Regions from separate parts of the Homo sapiens genome. Here region 1 is linked to region 2. The links are contacts of gene promoters, found by promoter capture Hi-C in blood cells and fetal thymus (Javierre and others, 2016). All regions are on one chromosome and are shown on one strand. Each heading gives the region's core, a stretch centred on a gene start or on the middle of the fragment in contact. The rest is flanking DNA. Distances are from core to core; before and after follow the strand shown. Region 1 holds the start of RAB1B (RAB1B, member RAS oncogene family). Region 2 holds the start of TMEM179B (transmembrane protein 179B).

The links. The method cuts DNA at HindIII sites, captures the fragments that hold promoters and counts their contacts. A CHiCAGO score of 5 or more calls a contact.
Region 1: the fragment with the promoter of RAB1B here is called in contact with the fragment with the promoter of TMEM179B in region 2 in 1 of 17 cell types (activated CD4 T cells); the score reaches 9.0 in activated CD4 T cells.

What each region holds. Positions count from the first base shown.
Region 1 is chr11:66,266,165-66,270,379 of GRCh38, forward strand. RAB1B (RAB1B, member RAS oncogene family) reads left to right here and starts at 2,475. Exons shown (of 6, transcript NM_030981.3): 1 at 2,475-2,529. The coding sequence starts at 2,516. It overlaps KLC2 (kinesin light chain 2), which reads left to right. Exons shown (of 16, transcript NM_001318734.2): 14 at 1-53; 15 at 269-326; 16 at 709-1,696. The coding sequence ends at 792. KLC2-AS2 (KLC2 antisense RNA 2) reads right to left here and starts at 2,247. Exons shown (of 3, transcript NR_186342.1): 1 at 2,135-2,247; 2 at 1,891-2,044; 3 at 1,385-1,667. RefSeq lists enhancers at 45-927, 1,684-1,733, 2,034-2,083, 2,204-2,533, 2,694-3,575 and silencers at 1,184-1,233, 1,254-1,573. The HindIII fragment of the contact is 6,329 bases long and covers 389-4,215 here.
Region 2 is chr11:62,785,381-62,789,054 of GRCh38, forward strand. TMEM179B (transmembrane protein 179B) reads left to right here and starts at 2,022. Exons shown (of 5, transcript NM_199337.3): 1 at 2,022-2,147; 2 at 3,643-3,674. The coding sequence starts at 2,052. It overlaps TAF6L (TATA-box binding protein associated factor 6 like), which reads left to right. Exons shown (of 11, transcript NM_006473.4): 10 at 880-1,008; 11 at 1,137-1,962. The coding sequence ends at 1,916. It also overlaps a transcript of TMEM223 not described here. RefSeq lists an enhancer at 1,093-1,292 and a silencer at 1,543-1,652. The HindIII fragment of the contact is 7,473 bases long and covers 1-3,674 here.

The DNA of each region.
Region 1 (4,215 bases), core at 1,225-3,724, 3.5 Mb after region 2:
ATGCTGGTAAAGAAGCTGCAGGGGGGCACCCCCCAGGAGCCCCCTAACCCCAGGTGAGCCCCCCACCAAGGTGAGCCTCAAGAACCACCCAGCAACCCCGGATGAGCTCCTGACCCAGAGTGTGCCCCACTGACCCCAGGCAACCTCCCCATCCCTCTCAGGCTCCACCACCCACCAGTCTGTTCCCTCCCCAGCCCCACCCTTCTCCCTGCCCCCATCTCCCGTGAGTTCCTCCTTGGGCAAATCCCAGGCTGTCCTTTTCCCTCAGGATGAAGCGGGCCAGTTCCCTCAACTTCCTCAACAAGAGCGTGGAAGAGCCGACCCAGGTAGGGGCAGGCGGGTGTCTGGGCACTGGGCAGCTGCGGCCGGGGCTGCATGCGTGCTGCCAAGCTTCCCTCCAGCATGCCTCTTCATCCAGCAACAGTTCCTGGCTCTGTCTCAGGCCTACTTTGGGCTGGACAACGGGGAGACACGAGGGGAACCCAGCCTCTCCTGGGGGTGGACGTGTAAACGGCCAGTGCTAACACCGTCACTGTGGAGATGGACGGGAGTGTCAGGGCACCAGGGTGTGGCCTTGGGTCAGAACTGCCATTGCCTCTGCCCAGCTCAGGGATTCCGGCTGCCTCTGCCAGGTCAGACCCCTTCAGGCCAGGGAGGCACAGACTGGCAGCAGCACAGGGCTGAGCCACCTGCCCCCTCTGCCCACAGCCTGGAGGCACAGGTCTCTCTGACAGCCGCACTCTCAGCTCCAGCTCCATGGACCTCTCCCGACGAAGCTCCCTGGTGGGCTAATGCTGAAGGGGCAGCCAGTCACCAGAGCGCCCACCTGGCACACCCCCCTCACCCCAGCCCTGCGCATGGGCCTGCTGCTTGTCCCGCCTGTCTCTCCCACAGCCCCTGTCTTTTCTGTTCAATCTCAGGGTAACCTTCTCCCTTGTCATCTCAGCCTGAGCCCTGGAGGCTGGGCCTGCCCACTCCAGCTCCATCCCTTATTTATTCCTTCCAGCAGGGCCCTCTTCCCTAGGTTCGGGCCAGCAGGAGGTGCCGGCTGGAGTCTCCACCATAGACTCAGTGGCCTGGCCTCCCCAGACCCCAGAGCCAAGAACACTAAGCACTCGCCGGCCCTTCGGCACCCTCGCCCTCCCTCCCGACTCAACCCGGCCGTTGCTTCTGTATATAGAGAAATAAGTTATTGGCCGCGCGCCTCCCTTCAGTCCACGGTACTACCCGGGCCTCCCCTCGTCCCTCTTCTAGTGGTACCGCCCAGGCCTTAATCACCCCCATTCCGTGCGGTGGTATCTCCCAGGCTCTACATTCTCGGGAGCGGCGCCTCCCAAGGGGGTCCTGGGACCTTCTCGCGCTCCTCCTGGCCTCTGAGGGATGCGTCCTACCCGCGCCATCGCCCCGTGGCCCAGGACGGGGACCTCCCCTTAGTCCGTCCTCCCACCGCCGGGCCCTGCCCCGCATCCCGGCCTTATGCACTGCCCCTCCCACCCGGCCCCGCCCAGGCACGGCCGACCCCGCCCCGGGCACCGCCCACCGAGCCATCCTGCCTCGCCTCCCCCCACGCCTGCAGCTTCTCGCGAGGGGCGGCGACGGTCCCCTGGTGGCAGGAGGGGCTCCCCCTGTTGCGGGTGAGGCGGCTGCTCTCATATTTTCAGATGTTGCTGTAGAAATAAAGACGGTTTAAATCTGAGCTGGGCTTGTTTTGAGACGGAGGTCGGGGGCCCCCAGCGTCTCTAGACTGGGGTGGAGCCGGGAAGGGTCGTGCGTGAGTGGGGGACAGTGTGTCTCGCTCAACCGCTGTCCGCGCAGCTGGGCCCAGATATTGTGCCCCACCCCGGAATTGCGTGAGGGGCCCACAAGTCAGGCTTTCCCTAAAACACTCACTTGTGGGGTTCTGGAGACCGCGGGCTCTTATGAGCTCTGCTCCTCACAAAGTTTTTGACCTTGAGTGAGTTTCCCGAGACTCAGTTTTTTCATCTATGAAATGCGGGTGATGACGCGCGGCTGCGAGTTAGGACTGCCCAGTACACGAAGAACCCTGGACAAATGTACTTTTATTAGTCTTACTAGAACCCACATTCTCATTTAATGTTCACAACGTGGGTATTGGGAGGGCAAGGATGACTACCTCCGTCAGACAGATGTGAAACGTGCCAAGCCCAGCCCTAAATTGAGCTTTCTAAACACCGAGTCGCGGTCAGGCTTTCCAGCACTGTCCTCAAGCCTGAGTGCGTCCGGAGTGCAAACTACAAGCCCCAGAAGGCAATGCGCCAGCAGTGATGGGAGTGGGCGCGGAGGCGCGGGCTCCCCGACTACGCCTGCGCAGCGGGGCTGAGTTGGAGAACGTCTTAGACTACAAGTTCCGGGAATCAGCGCGGCGAGGCCTGAGAAGAAGACGTTTGCGCCTGCGCGTCGCGGGCGGGGCCTCTGGGGCGGAGCGGCCACCATCTTGGAACGGGAGGCGGAGCAGAGTCGACTGGGAGCGACCGAGCGGGCCGCCGCCGCCGCCATGAACCCCGAATAGTGAGTGAGCCCCGCCCGCGCCGTCCAGCGCAGCCTCGATCCCGAATACAGGGCTGTACGCTTACCGGGGTTGTCTGGCCCGGGTCAGGACTGTGCGGCGCCCCCACATCCGGGTCCCTCTTCCGCTGACCCCCCCCCACATCCGGGTTCTGCCCCTCCCCCCAGGGGCCCCAGGACCCCGGCTCAAAACCCCGAGCCCTCGCACCCGGGGCCCAGACGTGGCGACCCCCAGGGGCAGCTCTTGGAGCTCGAGACATCGGTCCTACCAGGCCTTATCGGTCAGATGACCCCGCAGTCCCGGTCACTTCAGGCCTCAGTTTCCCCACCTGCTGCTTGACAACTGTCCCGGAGTTTTGGAGCCCGTCTTGATAGTTTCTGGTCTCGGGTTCAGGCTTGGGCCCTTTAGGTCGGGCAGTGAATCCCTCTACCCTTCTCTTTCTCCTGAAGCCCGGCTCCTGGGGCCGGCCCAGAAGCTAGCCAACTACGCGGGAGGCCCCGAAGCGCCGCTTGGGTCGCGTCTCCCGCAGGTCCTCTCTTCCGGGGCTGCCTCCTACCCTTTGCCTGGGTCGCGCTGTCCTGTCGCTCCCGCCGGTCCGTCCTTTCCCGCCCTCTCCTCGCTTTTGCTCAGGCCCCCAACGCCACCGTCACACCCCTTCCCTTGGCTGTCACACTGCCTGTGAAGTTTAGATGAATATGGAATTTGCTCTCCCCCTTCCTGTGGGATTCTCTGGTCCTCAAACTCTCCTCACTCTTGGTCACTCCCCCTGCGGGTAGGTGGCCCACATCTCATGCCCAGGACTAATAGTTTTCCCCAAGTATCAGTTATCTTCTTCCTTTTCTGCCACTTCCTTTTTCTACTCCACATCCAGGTCTCAGATTTCCTTGGGGAAGGGTGAAGCTCTGAGCTGGATTGGGAGGGGAACAGAGAAGGGAACCAGCAGGCTCTCGAAGGGACTTTGGAGTCTGAGAAACCTGGTTTGAGTCTTAAAGCGATAAACTGTGTAAGTTAGGGCAAGTCACTTCCCTTCTCTGGCCTCTGGTTTCCTCATTAGTTGACAATGACAAAACTGACTTCATTGAACTGTTGTGAAGATTAAATGAGATGATGCATTTAAAGTACTTCACACAGGGTCCGTCCACAGGTTGGAACTCAAGTATATTAAATGTGATTACCTTTTGCCTTTTTTTTTTTTTATTTTGAGACAGGGTCTCTCTCTGTCACCCAGGCTGGAGTGCAGTGGCGTGACGATGGCTCACTGCAGTCTCCAACTCTTGGGCTGAAGCAGTCCTCCTGCCTTGTCCTCCTGAGTAGCTGGGAATACAGAGGCACACCACCACACCTGGCACATTTTTTAATTTTTTGTAAAGACAGGGTCTCGATATGTTTCCCAGCCTGATCTCAAACTCCTGGGCTTAAATGATTCTCGTGCCTCGGGCTTCCAAAGTGTTGGGATTACAGGTGTCAGTCACTGCACCCAGCCTTAAGTGCAATTTTCACTGCAACTTGACCACCTCTTCCTGGTGACTTCATAACAGGTTTTTGTTGTTGTTGTTGTTGTTGTTGTTGTTGTTGTTGTTGTTGTTGTCTCCAAAGAGATGGGGTTAGCCGGGTGCGGTGGCTCAGGCCTGTAATCCCAGGACTTTGGGAGGCCGAGGTGGGTGGATCACGAGGTCAGGAGATCGAGA
Region 2 (3,674 bases), core at 772-3,271:
CGGGGTTTCACTGTGCTGGCCAGGGCTCGTCTCGAACTCCTGACCTCCTGATCCGCCTGCCTTGGCCTCCCAAAGTGCTGGGATTACAGGCGTGAGCCACAGCGCCCGGCTGGTATTTTCCTTATAGGCCCAGCTGGTATTTTCCTTATAGTTAATTCTTTTTTTTTTTTTTGAGACGGAGTCTCACTTTGCTTCCCAGGGTGGAGTGCGGTGGTGTGATCTCGGCTCACTGCAACCTCTGCCCCCCGAGTTCAAGTGATTCTCCTGCCTCAGCCTCCCAAGTAGTTGAGATTACAGGCAACTGCTACTGCGCCCAGCTAATTTTTGTATTTTTAGTAGAGATGGGGTTTCACCATCTTGGCCAAGCTGGTCTTGAACTCCTGACCTCAGGTGATCCACTGGCCTCGGCCTCCCAAAGTGCTGGGATTACAGGCGTGAGCCACAGCGCCTGTCCAATCACAGGATTTTAAATTGTATAATCAGAGTCCAAGTCTCTGGTTGGTTGTTTTTATGCAGATTGTTTGAACTGAGTCTCAGTTTACATCTAAGTGAAGCCAGTACTTGCCTGATTGTATAGGGTAGCAGTATGCAAACTAAATTTTGGAGTTGTCAGTAATGAGCATTATTTAGCACACAGGGCAGTGATATTGGGTATATTTTTTATTGTCTCCCTTTGTACCTTATCTTTATTCCCAATGCCTAGCTTAGGTATACAGTAGGTTCCAAATAAATATATGGTTGAATATGCCAATCAGGGAATTTAGGAGGATTGAGCCCTGTCTAGGATCAGAGATAAAGGTAGGTCTTTCATGGGAAAGGGTCCTTGAGAGGGAATAAGTATCAAAGACATGCTAACTGTATTCCTTCTCTTCCTTCCAGGCAGTAGAACGAGTCCTGTACCCACACCTGTCCACCTACTGGACAAACTTGCAGGCTGTGCTGGATGATTATTCAGTATCTAATGCCCAGGTCAAAGCAGATGGACACAAAGTCTATGGAGCCATTCTGGTGAGTACCGTCCCCTTCCAGCCTCCCTTCCCTGCATGAGCTTAGCAGCCAAGCAGGCTTACTTTGGAATATTTGATGGGCCCAGGTTCCTCGAATTTTTTGCCTATCTTAGTCCTTGGCTCTTACAGGTGGCGGTAGAGCGACTGCTGAAGATGAAGGCCCAGGCAGCAGAGCCCAACAGGGGTGGCCCAGGTGGCAGGGGGTGCCGGCGCCTGGACGACCTGCCATGGGACAGCCTTCTCTTTCAAGAGTCGTCCTCCGGGGGCGGTGCAGAACCCAGCTTTGGGTCCGGCCTCCCGCTGCCGCCAGGGGGCGCGGGGCCGGAGGACCCTTCTCTTTCGGTGACCCTGGCCGACATCTACCGGGAGCTCTACGCCTTCTTCGGTGACAGCTTGGCCACACGCTTTGGCACCGGCCAGCCTGCACCCACGGCTCCGCGGCCGCCCGGGGACAAGAAGGAGCCGGCGGCAGCCCCGGACTCGGTGCGGAAGATGCCGCAGCTGACGGCAAGCGCCATAGTCAGCCCGCACGGCGACGAGAGCCCCCGGGGCAGCGGCGGAGGCGGCCCCGCGTCGGCCTCTGGGCCCGCCGCCTCTGAGAGCAGGCCCTTGCCGCGCGTGCATCGGGCGCGCGGGGCACCCCGGCAGCAGGGCCCCGGGACCGGCACCCGCGACGTTTTCCAGAAGAGCCGTTTCGCCCCGCGCGGCGCCCCGCACTTTCGTTTCATCATAGCCGGGCGGCAGGCTGGGAGGCGCTGCCGCGGGCGCCTTTTCCAGACTGCCTTCCCCGCGCCGTACGGGCCTAGCCCGGCCTCGCGCTACGTGCAGAAACTGCCCATGATCGGCCGTACCAGCCGCCCCGCCCGCCGGTGGGCGCTCTCGGACTACTCGCTGTACTTGCCGCTCTGAGTCAGTGGCCCCTTCGTTCCTTGTAAATAAATCCCGCCCCCGGAAATGACGTCTCCACCTTCGTGGGTCGCGCCGGATAAGGTGGGCTTTGGGCGGGGTGCTGCTGCAGCGGCGCTTCCTGGTGGTCAGGGCGCCATGGCGCTGTCCTGGCTGCAGCGCGTCGAGCTTGCGCTCTTTGCTGCCGCCTTCCTGTGCGGGGCCGTGGCGGCCGCGGCGATGACTCGGACCCAGGTGCGGCTGCGGGGCGGGGTCAGGTAGGCGGGGGAGCTGGCCGGTCTGGACATGGCGAGGCCACTTTCGCTTTCCGACCGGGCTTGCTGCTGCTCGGAGCCGGTGGACCTGGTGAGGCACGGCTGGCGCCGGCCTGTACCTGAAATGCAGCGAGGCTAATCGCGCTTTGTGGCTCCTCCTGGCCAGGTCATACTTCGAAGTTGTCCCCTCGCCAAAGGGACGGGTCAGTAGCGTCTTAAAGCACTAGGTGGAGTCGGGTTTCGTGGCTCCTGCTGCACAGCCTTACTGTGGTTCCGAAACAGAAGTCAGTGCAGAACCTGCGTCCATCCGTTAAATCAGAAGCCATTTGTGCTGAGCTTTGTCGAGAAATAAAGCATAGTGTAGTGGAGATGATCAAGCTGCCACATGATTGTAGCACAGTGTGTTAAATGACAAAATGAGAGATGGAGAAAACGCTGACGTAAAGGTAGAAGCCAATAATTTACATCGTTTACCCCAGCCAGGTAATCTGGTTAATAAACATGGGTTCATTTAATGCCTATAAAGTAGGCACTAGTGTGCCTATTTTACACCATGAGAAAACCTCAGAGATCCGCCGGGCGCGGTGACTCACGCCTGTAATCCCAGCACTTTGGGAGGCTGAGGCAGGCGGATCACTTGAGGTCAGGAGTTCGAGACCAGCCTGGCCAACATGGCAAAACTCTGTCTCTACTAAAAATACAAAAATTAGCCGGGTGTGGTGGCTCATGCCTGTAATCCCAGCTACTTCGGAGGCTGAGGCAGGAGAATCGCTTGAACCTGGGAGGCGGAGGTTGCAGTGAGTCGAGATCGTGCCATTGCACTCCAGCCTGGGTGACGAGCGAATCTCCATCGCAAAAACAAAAACAAAAACACTGGCCGGGCCTGGTGGCTCACGCCTGTAATCCCAGCACTTTGGGAGGCCGTGGCAGGCGGATCACGAGGTCAGGAGATCAAGACCATCCTGGCCAACACGGTGAAACCCTGTCTCTACTAAAAATACAAACAATTAGCCAGGCATGGTGGCGGGTGCCTGTAGTCCCAGCTACTCAGGAGGCTGAGGCAGGAGAATGGCATGAACCCAGAAGGCAGAGCGTGCAGTGAGCCGAGATGGCGCCACTGCACTCCAGCAAAAAAAAAAAAAAAAAGCACCTCACAGATAGTTATTTGTTGAAGGATATACAAGGCCTGGGTTTACTCTAAGGTTTCTGCACAGAGACCATAACTTGTGAGGCTTCTCTGAAGCTCATTGCATTCTATATTCATTGCCTATTTTCTGATCCTTCTGGCCACTGCCGGTGTGATTCCCCAGCAGGCCCTCTCCATCAATATCCCTGTCCCAGAAATAGGAATTGACGGTGCACAAATAACTTCCTGGAATGCAGGACCATTCCTAAGTTATCACTAACACCCTACCAAGAGACTGTATCTAGAGACATTAACCTGAAATCTAGGACTCAGCAGCTTCTCTCCACAGGGCTCCTTCAGTGGTAGATGTCCCCTGTATGG